2 separate regions of the Homo sapiens genome follow, and region 1 is linked to region 2. The links are contacts of gene promoters, found by promoter capture Hi-C in blood cells and fetal thymus (Javierre and others, 2016). All regions are on one chromosome and are shown on one strand. Each heading gives the region's core, a stretch centred on a gene start or on the middle of the fragment in contact. The rest is flanking DNA. Distances are from core to core; before and after follow the strand shown. Region 1 holds the start of RBM3 (RNA binding motif protein 3). Region 2 holds the start of ZNF630 (zinc finger protein 630).

Evidence for each region. The method cuts DNA at HindIII sites, captures the fragments that hold promoters and counts their contacts. A CHiCAGO score of 5 or more calls a contact.
Region 1: the fragment with the promoter of RBM3 here is called in contact with the fragment with the promoter of ZNF630 in region 2 in 8 of 17 cell types (naive CD4 T cells, total CD8 T cells, total CD4 T cells and 5 more); the score reaches 8.0 in naive CD4 T cells.

What each region holds. Positions count from the first base shown.
Region 1 is chrX:48,571,623-48,575,944 of GRCh38, reverse strand. RBM3 (RNA binding motif protein 3) reads right to left here and starts at 1,461. Exons shown (of 7, transcript NM_006743.5): 1 at 1,372-1,461; 2 at 662-777; 3 at 278-384. The coding sequence starts at 764. RefSeq lists enhancers at 1,134-1,403, 387-1,586 and a cis regulatory region at 1,343-2,328. The HindIII fragment of the contact is 13,325 bases long and covers 1-4,322 here.
Region 2 is chrX:48,068,966-48,073,385 of GRCh38, reverse strand. ZNF630 (zinc finger protein 630) reads left to right here and starts at 1,746. Exons shown (of 5, transcript NM_001282201.2): 1 at 1,746-2,119. RefSeq lists a silencer at 1,408-1,604 and an enhancer at 1,516-1,775. The HindIII fragment of the contact is 4,069 bases long and covers 1-3,999 here.

The sequences.
Region 1 (4,322 bases), core at 212-2,711, 500 kb before region 2:
CACAGGTCTGCAGACTCTACTACCTAAGCCCAAGGCAGGTCAACCATCCACAGGTGGCTTCTCGGCCTCATGCAGGACCAGTCGTCGCCTCCCAGGCGGCCAGGCTCTGTCTGCCGCTGCCCTCCACCCCCTAGAACAAAAGGCAGTCATGCTCCTGTGAGTGGGCACTGCGGGGCTTGGTGGCCACGCTGCCCCGAGCAGACACAGAGGGAAAAACAAAAAGAATGAAGGAAGCCGCAGATGGGGACAAGGTCCCTCTGCAGATAGGAGGCCCCACCTCTCCGTTCATGGCTCTCATGGCAACTGAAGCATGCTCTGGGTTGGTGAAGGTGATGAAACCAAAACCCCTGGACCGCTGAGTCTCCCGGTCCTTGACAACGACCACTGTGAGAGGGAGAGAAGATGGAGCAATGTGGACCAGTCAGTACCCCAAAGGTTAAGTAGCAAAGGGTGGCCGGAAAAGGAGATGGCATAGGTAGGGAAAACGGAGCGCTCCCACTAATCCCAAAGACGCTTCCCCTCATCCTTAGTCTACACCATAGGCTTAGGAAGAAAAAGAATTTGGAGGCGTGGGTCCTAACTTTTCAGTTAATACTCCTTGAAATGCAAGGATCCCAGACTTTCTCTCACCAACCCCCATTGTGAGTATGGCCCGTCTCACCCTCAGAGATAGGTCCGAAACTGCTGAAGTGGTCTTCCAGTGCCTGCTCGTCGGTGTTAAAGTTGAGCCCTCCCACGAAGAGCTTTCCTTCTTCAGAGGACATGGCAGTTCAAGTCCTGTGGGAAGAACATGAAGAATGGTGGCAGGAAGGAGAAAGAAAATGGAGATGTGAGAAAATAGCGAGACGGAAAGCAGAGAAAAAGCACAGAAAATAGACAAGAAAGAGGAACAAAATATGGGTAACTACAGAAAAGCTGAGAAAGGCGGCCAATAAGGTGGTAATCTGAGGAGCTGGCTCAGCGCAGCCACCATTAGGGGGCCACATTGCGCATGCTCTCACATTCATAGCCGCCACGCCCGTCATTTTGTGCCACTGCGCAAGCCCAGAACATCCCTGCGTTCCCTTAACGCCGGCAGAACAAGATGGCGGCGGCCACGTGGGATAAGGAAAGTAAGTGTCGGCTGTCGCGTGGTCACTGCCACCACCGACGCCACCAGTCCCTCCCGGTAGGCCTCACACTCAGATACAGCGCGCCGGCCTCCCACCAACCGAAATGTTTCACCTCCAAGCACGGGACCCGCCCGTCCCAGAGAAAGCCAAGCCTACGTGTCAGTGGCCATTACTCTCCCCACTCGCTATTCCCCGGTCACGGCCGGCGCGGCGCGTGTGTGGCGAGGAGCCGCCGTTTCGCAGGACATATGCAACTTACCTGGAAATTAAAACGTAAAAAACCCGGACGAACAGCGAGCTCGGAGGAGCACAAAAAACAGGGACGGGGCTGCGCCGGAAGACGATTGATAAAGAGTACGTAGCGAGAACGTCCCGGAACGTTCCCCTTGCGCGTCCCGGCGTGCGTGCTGATTGGCTGAGGCCAGCAGGAGCGGAGTGGTGGGGAGAGGAAGGGACAGCAAAGCGAAGGGAGCAGTGTTCTCCGCGAAATGGGGTGTTTCCGGAAATGGGGTGTTTCCGGAAATGGGGTCGACTTTTGAACAGCTGGTGCACCCTAAACGTCAGCATCCCCCCCACAACCGGCTGAGCTGCCTTTATCCCTTCCACAAAGGAACCTTCTCAATCTCATACTACTTGCTGTCCCTGACATCATCCTCCCGTCCTTGCCATCATTTCCCCCGCTGGATCGGATGTCTTCCTCACCATCGTAGTCGTCTTCCTCTAGGTCCCTGCCATTCTCTGATGTTAACCTCCTTCACCTTCTAGTTCTTTAACCTCATACCCTTTAAAGGCCTGACATTTTATCCCCCACCGTCACTGATGTCATCACCCTTCACAGTCCATGATGTCAGACCCAACGTTTTAAGGTTTGACCCTGACTCCTACTCTTTCTCCTCTGTGCTCAACATCTAGCCGCCTGTCATGGGACCCTTTTCCCTGGCGTCATTCCATCTCATCTCTGACTTCAGCCCTCACCCTTGTCTGACTGCTGGCGTGAAGCCAGCCCCTTAATTTTCTCACCAATAGACTGCCTGAGATGGCTTTTACAAAACAGGATGCTGGCCGGGCGCGGTGGCTCACGCCTGTATTCCCAGCACTTTGGGAGGCCAAAGCGGGCGGTTCACGAGTTCAGGAGTTCGAGACCTGCATGGCCAACATGGTGAAACCCCATCTCTACTAAAAATACAAAAAAAAAAAAAAAAAAAAAAAAAGAAAAAAAAAATTAGCTGGGTGTGGTGGCACGTGCCTGTAGTCCCACCTACTCGGGAGGCTGAGGCTGGAAAATCGCTTGAACCCGGGAGGCGGAGGTTGCAGTGAGCCGAGACCACGCCATTGCACTCCAGCCTGGGTGAAAACAAAACAAAACAAAAGAGGATGCTACGATCTTCAGAGGTTGTAAATCCCAATCCATAGAGCAATTTTTGCTCTCTTCGAAAGTAACTGAGCCCTTGCCGGGCGCAGTGGCTCATGCCTGTAATCCCAGCACTTTGGGAGGCCGAAGTGGGCAGATCACAAGGTCAGGAGTTCAAGACTACCCTGGCCAATATGGTGAAACCCTGTCTCTACTAACAATACAAAAAAAAAAAAAAATTAGCCGGGCGTGGTGGTAGGCACCTGTAGTCCCAGCTACTCAGGAGGCTGAGGCGGGATAATCGCTTGAACCCGGGAGGTGGAGGTTGCAGTGAGCTGAGATCATGCCACTGCACTCCAGCTTGGGCGACAGAGCAAGACTCAGTCTCAAAAAAAAAAAAAAAGTAACTGAGCCCTTGATTCACAGAAGGGACTTTCGCAATACACAATAGACTTATCCCAATCAAGTAGTGTCTGAGCCCACTGTTCACAATTTAGTCTTCAGTGTCTTGGCCACCTTTACAATAAATGGATTTGACAGATTTTTCACTTCTGAGCGCCACATCAACGAAGAATAAGTTAGTTTGCCCTCAGAGGCTAAATTTCTTATCCATAGAATGAATTTGCCCAACACAGACCAAATTTGCTAACATACAGAATACAGTACATCCATATTCCTGTTGGGGTAATTCCCATATTTATCTTCCTGTTATTGTCAGGGATTCCTCACATAGTCTAATTATTAATCCCTTAGGTGTTGGAAATAGCCTCTCCAGCTCTGGCATTTGTGTTATTAACTTTGTAAGCAGTAAACTTAGTTGAATAAAGATCCATAATTTTGATATAATCATTTTTCCCCCTATGTTCTGTGCTTTTTTCTGAGACGGAGTCTCACTCTGTCGCTCAGGCTGGAGTGCAGTGGCATGATCTCAGCTCACTGCAACCTCCGCCTCCCAGGTTCAAGTGATTCTCCTGCTTTAGTCTCCTGAGTAGCTGGGATTACGGGCATGTGCCACTATGCCCAGCTAATTTTTGTATTTTTAGTAGAGATGAGGTTTCACCATGTTGTTCAGGCTGTTCTCAAACTCCTGACTTCATGATCCGCCTGCCTCGGCCTCCCAAAGTGCTGGGATTACAGGCGTGAGCCACCACGCCCGGCCTGGTCTGTGCTTTTAAAGAAATCATTCTCTTTCCCAGGTCACAAAATGTTCCCCTACAGTTTCTTTCTTTCTTTCTTTTTTTTTTTTTTTGACAGAGTTTCGCTCTTGTTGCCCAGGCTGGAGTGCAATGGCACTATCTCGGCTCACTGCAACCTCCGCCTCCTGGGTTCAAGCAATTCTCCTGCCTCAGCCTGCTGCGTAGCTAGGATTACAGGTGTGTGCCACCACACCTGGCTAATTTTTGCATTTTTAGTAGAGACAGGTTTTTGCCATGTTGGCCAGGCTGGTCTTGAACTCCTGGCCTCAAGTGATTCGCCTGCCTCGGCCTCCCAAAGTGCTGGGATTACAGGCATGAGCCACCGCACCCGGCCACATTTAGGTCTTTAATCCATGTAGAGTTCGTCCTTGTATATGGTGTGAGATAGAGCTCCAATTTTATTTTTCTCTGTGTCATGAGCCAGATGCCCCATCACCATCTATTAAGCAATCTGTCCCATCCCTGTGTGTGTTTTACCACCTCTATCATGTATCAAGTTCCATAGATATATGGGTCTGTCTCTGAGGTGGTTTGTTGCTGGTTTTGTTGTTATTGTTGTTTTTAAGAGATGAGCCCAGGCTGACTCCTGGCCTCAAGCATTCTCCCCAACTCAGCCTCCTGAGTAACTGGGATTACAGGGGAGCACTATTGTACCTGACTTCT
Region 2 (4,420 bases), core at 497-2,996:
TTCCCCATTACTGCCCCTCAGTTCTTGCTCACTGCAACCTCCACCTCCCAGGTTCTAGTGATTCTCATGCTTCGGCCACCCAAGCAGCTGGAATTACAGGCATGCACCACCACGTCTGGGTAATTTTCGTATTTTTAGTAGAGACAGGTTTTCGCCAAGTTGGCTATGCTGAGTCCTGGCTTCAAGTGATCTGCCTGCCTCCACCTCCCAAAATGCTGGGATTATAGGAGTGAGCCACTACGCTCTGCATCCCTCAGATCTTTACACTGACTGCAGGCCTCAGTTGAGTCCTCTCCATCTATGATCCTTTGGTATGTACAGAAAATCAAGGCTGTACTAACTTTTTAGCTACTTGTGCCCCTTCTCCTGTATCCACCAACCCCAATCCTCAGTTAACATTTATTTTTATAGAGATGGAGTCTCACTATGTTGCCCAGACTGGTCTTGATCTCCTGGGCTCACATGATCCTCCCGCCTCAGCCTCCCAAAGTCCTGGGATTACAGGTGTCAGCCACTGTGCCCGGCCCTCAGTTAACATTTTTTTCTTATTTTTATTTTTTGAGACAGAGTTTTGTCTCTCCCCCAGGTTGGAGTGCAGTGTCACAGTCTTGGCCCACTGCAACCTCCACCTCCCAGGTTCAAGCGATTCTCATGCCTCAGCCTCCCAAGCAGCTGAGACTACAGGCATGTGCCACCACATCTGGCTAAATTTTGTATTTTTAGTAGAGATAGGGTTTTGCCATGTTGGCCAGGCTGGTCTCTAACTCCTGGCCTCAAGTGATCCTCCCGCCTTGGCCTCCCAAAGTTCTGAGATTGCAAGTGTTAGCCACTGTGCCCAGCCCTCAGTTAACATTTTTATCATGAATGCCATTTGGTTTGACTTTGAAGTCAGACCTTGATTAATTCTTCCACCATCATTACCCCTTTGGTATAGGCTGTGAATTCCGGGGCTCTGTTAACCACATCACGTGACTTTAATGGGTCTCTGGTCTTGGCTCAGATTTGGGTCTAAGTTAACCTTCCATTTAAGGCCTCTCTGAAATAACTTTGGAATTGGGTTACTATTGCACCACCAGTGCCCCTCTGATTTGATCTTCAAGCAGGATATTTGTTAATGTTTTCTCCATCCATACACCCTGATAGAGGTCTTGAATCCTAGGACTTTCTTAACTATTGTAACCATCAGAGTTCCCGTTTTGTATCGAACATGAACCTTTGTTAACTCTGCAATCCTGTTCCGGGCTGACTTCCAATCCAGCCCTTTGTTAAGTCGTCTAAAACCAATGTCCCTTAGGTTTTACCTCGAACCTCTGACTCTATGAACTCTTTTAGTTTTGATACGGGCTGCAAAAGGCCATATAAGCCTACTTGAACTAGGGCAGGCAGAAGTCCAGGCTGTAAATGACAGGTGAAGGTGGGCCCTTCCGTGTTCAAAGGAGCCAATGGAGGACCGGTGGGCAGTGAGTGACAGATGGGGGCGGGTCCTGACGCCAAGCAGGAACAATAGGAAGGCGGCAGGGCGCCGAGGCCAGGTGGGGAGAAGTGGGCGGGTATGTGTGAGCCCCCTGAAAGGCTGCATGATGTCAAAGGTCTCTTCCCTTTCTCCAGACGTTTTAGGAATTCGCTTCTGCGGAGGAATCTCCCGGGGGGTGCTCTGTCCAGCCTTCCCACTTTCCCCGTTTCCCACCCTGCCATGTCGCCACGCCTTTGCTCAGGCCGTGCCTCTTCTGGTGGCCGGGAACGCCCACTCACCCGGACAAGTCGCGGCCCTTCCAAGCCTCACACTGCTTTCGTAGGATCAATTCCGAATACCCAAACTCGGAGATATCACGAGGACTCCCCCGGGCCCCCAAACGCACCTCTCCTCTGGCTGGAATGGGAGCCTCCAGAAGCAGTGCGAGACCACGGCCAGCGACAGAGGTCCTGGCGCTGGCGGAATGACGCCATTTTTGTTACTGGTAGAGCTCGGCTTCGTGGCTGTTTCGGAGCCACCGAAAGATAAGCTCCCTCGTCACCCTGACATCTCTCCGGGAAGACTGGAAGGGAAATGGCCTTTCGGGGGATGTTGAACGCATTTGGGCAGGCGGGGAGCCAAGCCCGGCTTGAGAGCAGAGCCGGGGTGAGGGGCCTGGCTGAGTGCTGCGGGTCTATGTGATCAGTGACGGATGGAGACAAGTGGAGGGCCTGAGGAGGGGATTGAGTGACGTGGAGAACAGTGATAGGGGAGCCTGTGGGACCAGGGGTAACAGTATGTGGGTTATGCAAATGGGAGTTTGTGGGGTGATGGGGGATCTGTGCGGTGTTTGATGATGTCTGTAAGGGTGAGTGATGGGGCTTCTATGGGATGGGTGAAGGGAGTCTGGGGTGAGTGATGGGTGGTCTGTAGGGTGAGGGATGCTGATCCGTGGGGTGAGTGGATAGGGGGATCTGGGGTGAGGGATGAGGGTCTATGAGGACAAGAATGGGAGTGTGTGTGGGGTCAGTGTTGACATTCTGTGGGGTCCATGATGGGTGGCTTTTTCAGATCAATCATATGTGCATGAATGAACAAAAATCTCTGCTCCTGTGGTGTCCACATTCCGATGGAGAAGTCCAACTTGGTGGTTTGATTTGTATTTCCCTCATGACCAATAAGTTTGAGCACATTTTCTTATATGGATTCATCACTTGGAGATCTTCTTTTGTGAGGGGCCTGTCTTTTGTTCATTTTTCTGTTGGACTCTCTGCCCTTTTCTTAATGATTTGTAGGAATTTTTTTTTTTTTTTTTTTTTTTAGACGAAGTCTCACTCTGTCGCCCAGGCTGGAGTGCAGTGGAGAAATCATGGTTCACTGCAACCTCCACCTCCTGGGTTCTAGCAATTATCCTACCTCAGCCTCCCGAGTAGCTGGAATTACAGGCGCCTGCCACCACGCCTGGCTGATTTTTTTGTATTTGTAGTAGAGACAGGGTTTCGCCATGTTGGCCAGGCTGGTCCCGAACTCTTGACCTCAGGTGATACACCCACCTCGGCCTCCCAAAGTGCTGGGATTACAGGTGTGAGCCACCGTGCCCGGCCAGGAATTGTTTTTATATATTCTGATACCACTCCTTTAGTAGTGGTATGTGTTTTGCAAATATCTCCTTCCAGCTTTTGGCTTCTCTTTTCATTTTATGGCTTTAAATATGAAGATTTTCAGTTAATTTTGAACTGTAAAGCACATTCTTCAGTTAAAAAGCAGACAATATCGGCTGGGCGTGGTGGCTCACACCTATAATCCCAGCACTTTGGGAGGCCGAGGCGGCCGGATCACGAGGTCAGGAAATCGAGACCATCCTGGCTAACACGGTGAAACCCCGTCTCTACTAAAATTACAAAAAAATTAGCTGGGCGTGGTGGCGGGCTCCTGTAGTCCCAGCTACTGGGGAGGCTGAGGCAGGAGAATGGAGTGAACCAGGGAGGCGGAGCTTGCAGTGAGCCGAGATCGCGCCACTGCACTCCAGCCTGGGCGACAGAGCGAGACTCCATCTCAAAAACAAAAAACAAAAAACAAAAAAAAAAAAAACAGACAATGTCCTGTGGAATTTAGGAGGATAACTAATTTTTTAGGGCATCCAGAAGCAAGGGGTGTTGCCTGAAAATCTTAGTGCTAGGACAGCTTGGGAGGAGTTCTTTACTTTTTGTTCCTCTACCACCTCGCTCTAAATCACTGGCAGTGTGATCTTAGACAACTCATGAAACCTCTCTAGGCATCAGTTTCCCACTGCGAAATGAGGATAATAGCAGGGCCTACCCTGTGAGGCTTGGGATGAGAAGTGAGTTAATACCTGAATGTTACCTATTCGCCATAGTTTTGCAGCACTAATTTTGTATATATTTCATGGATCTTCCTTGAACTCAAGGTTACTGCTGCTCATGTAATACCAAAATCTGGTGAAGGAAATTAAATACCAAGGAATAAGGTTTTGTCAGCTATGGTTGCTTTGGAGGGTCACAACCCATTGTAATATCTAAGAAGCTTTTTTTTGTTTTTGTTTTGTTTTGTTTTGTTTTGCCTCCAAGAACTAATTTTTGTCCCCTTGGGGGCAGTATCACCCCCCAGTGAGAATGTGTGATCTACATGGTATTTTTTTTTTGTTTTCTTTTCTTTTCCTTTTTTTTTTTCTTTGACAGGGTCTCATTCTGTTGCCCAGGCTGGAGTGCAATGGCGTGATCTCAGCACATTGCAACCTCCGCCTCCCGGATTCAAGTGACTCTCCTGCCTCAGCCTGCCAAGTAGCCAGGACTACAGGTGTGCACCACCACGCCCGGCTAATTTTGTTTATTTTTTGTAGAAACGAGGTCTCACTATGTTGCTCAGGCTGGCCTCGAACTCCTGGACTCAAGCAATCCTCTTGCCTTGGCCTCCCAAAGTACTGGGATGACAGGTGTGAGCCACCAC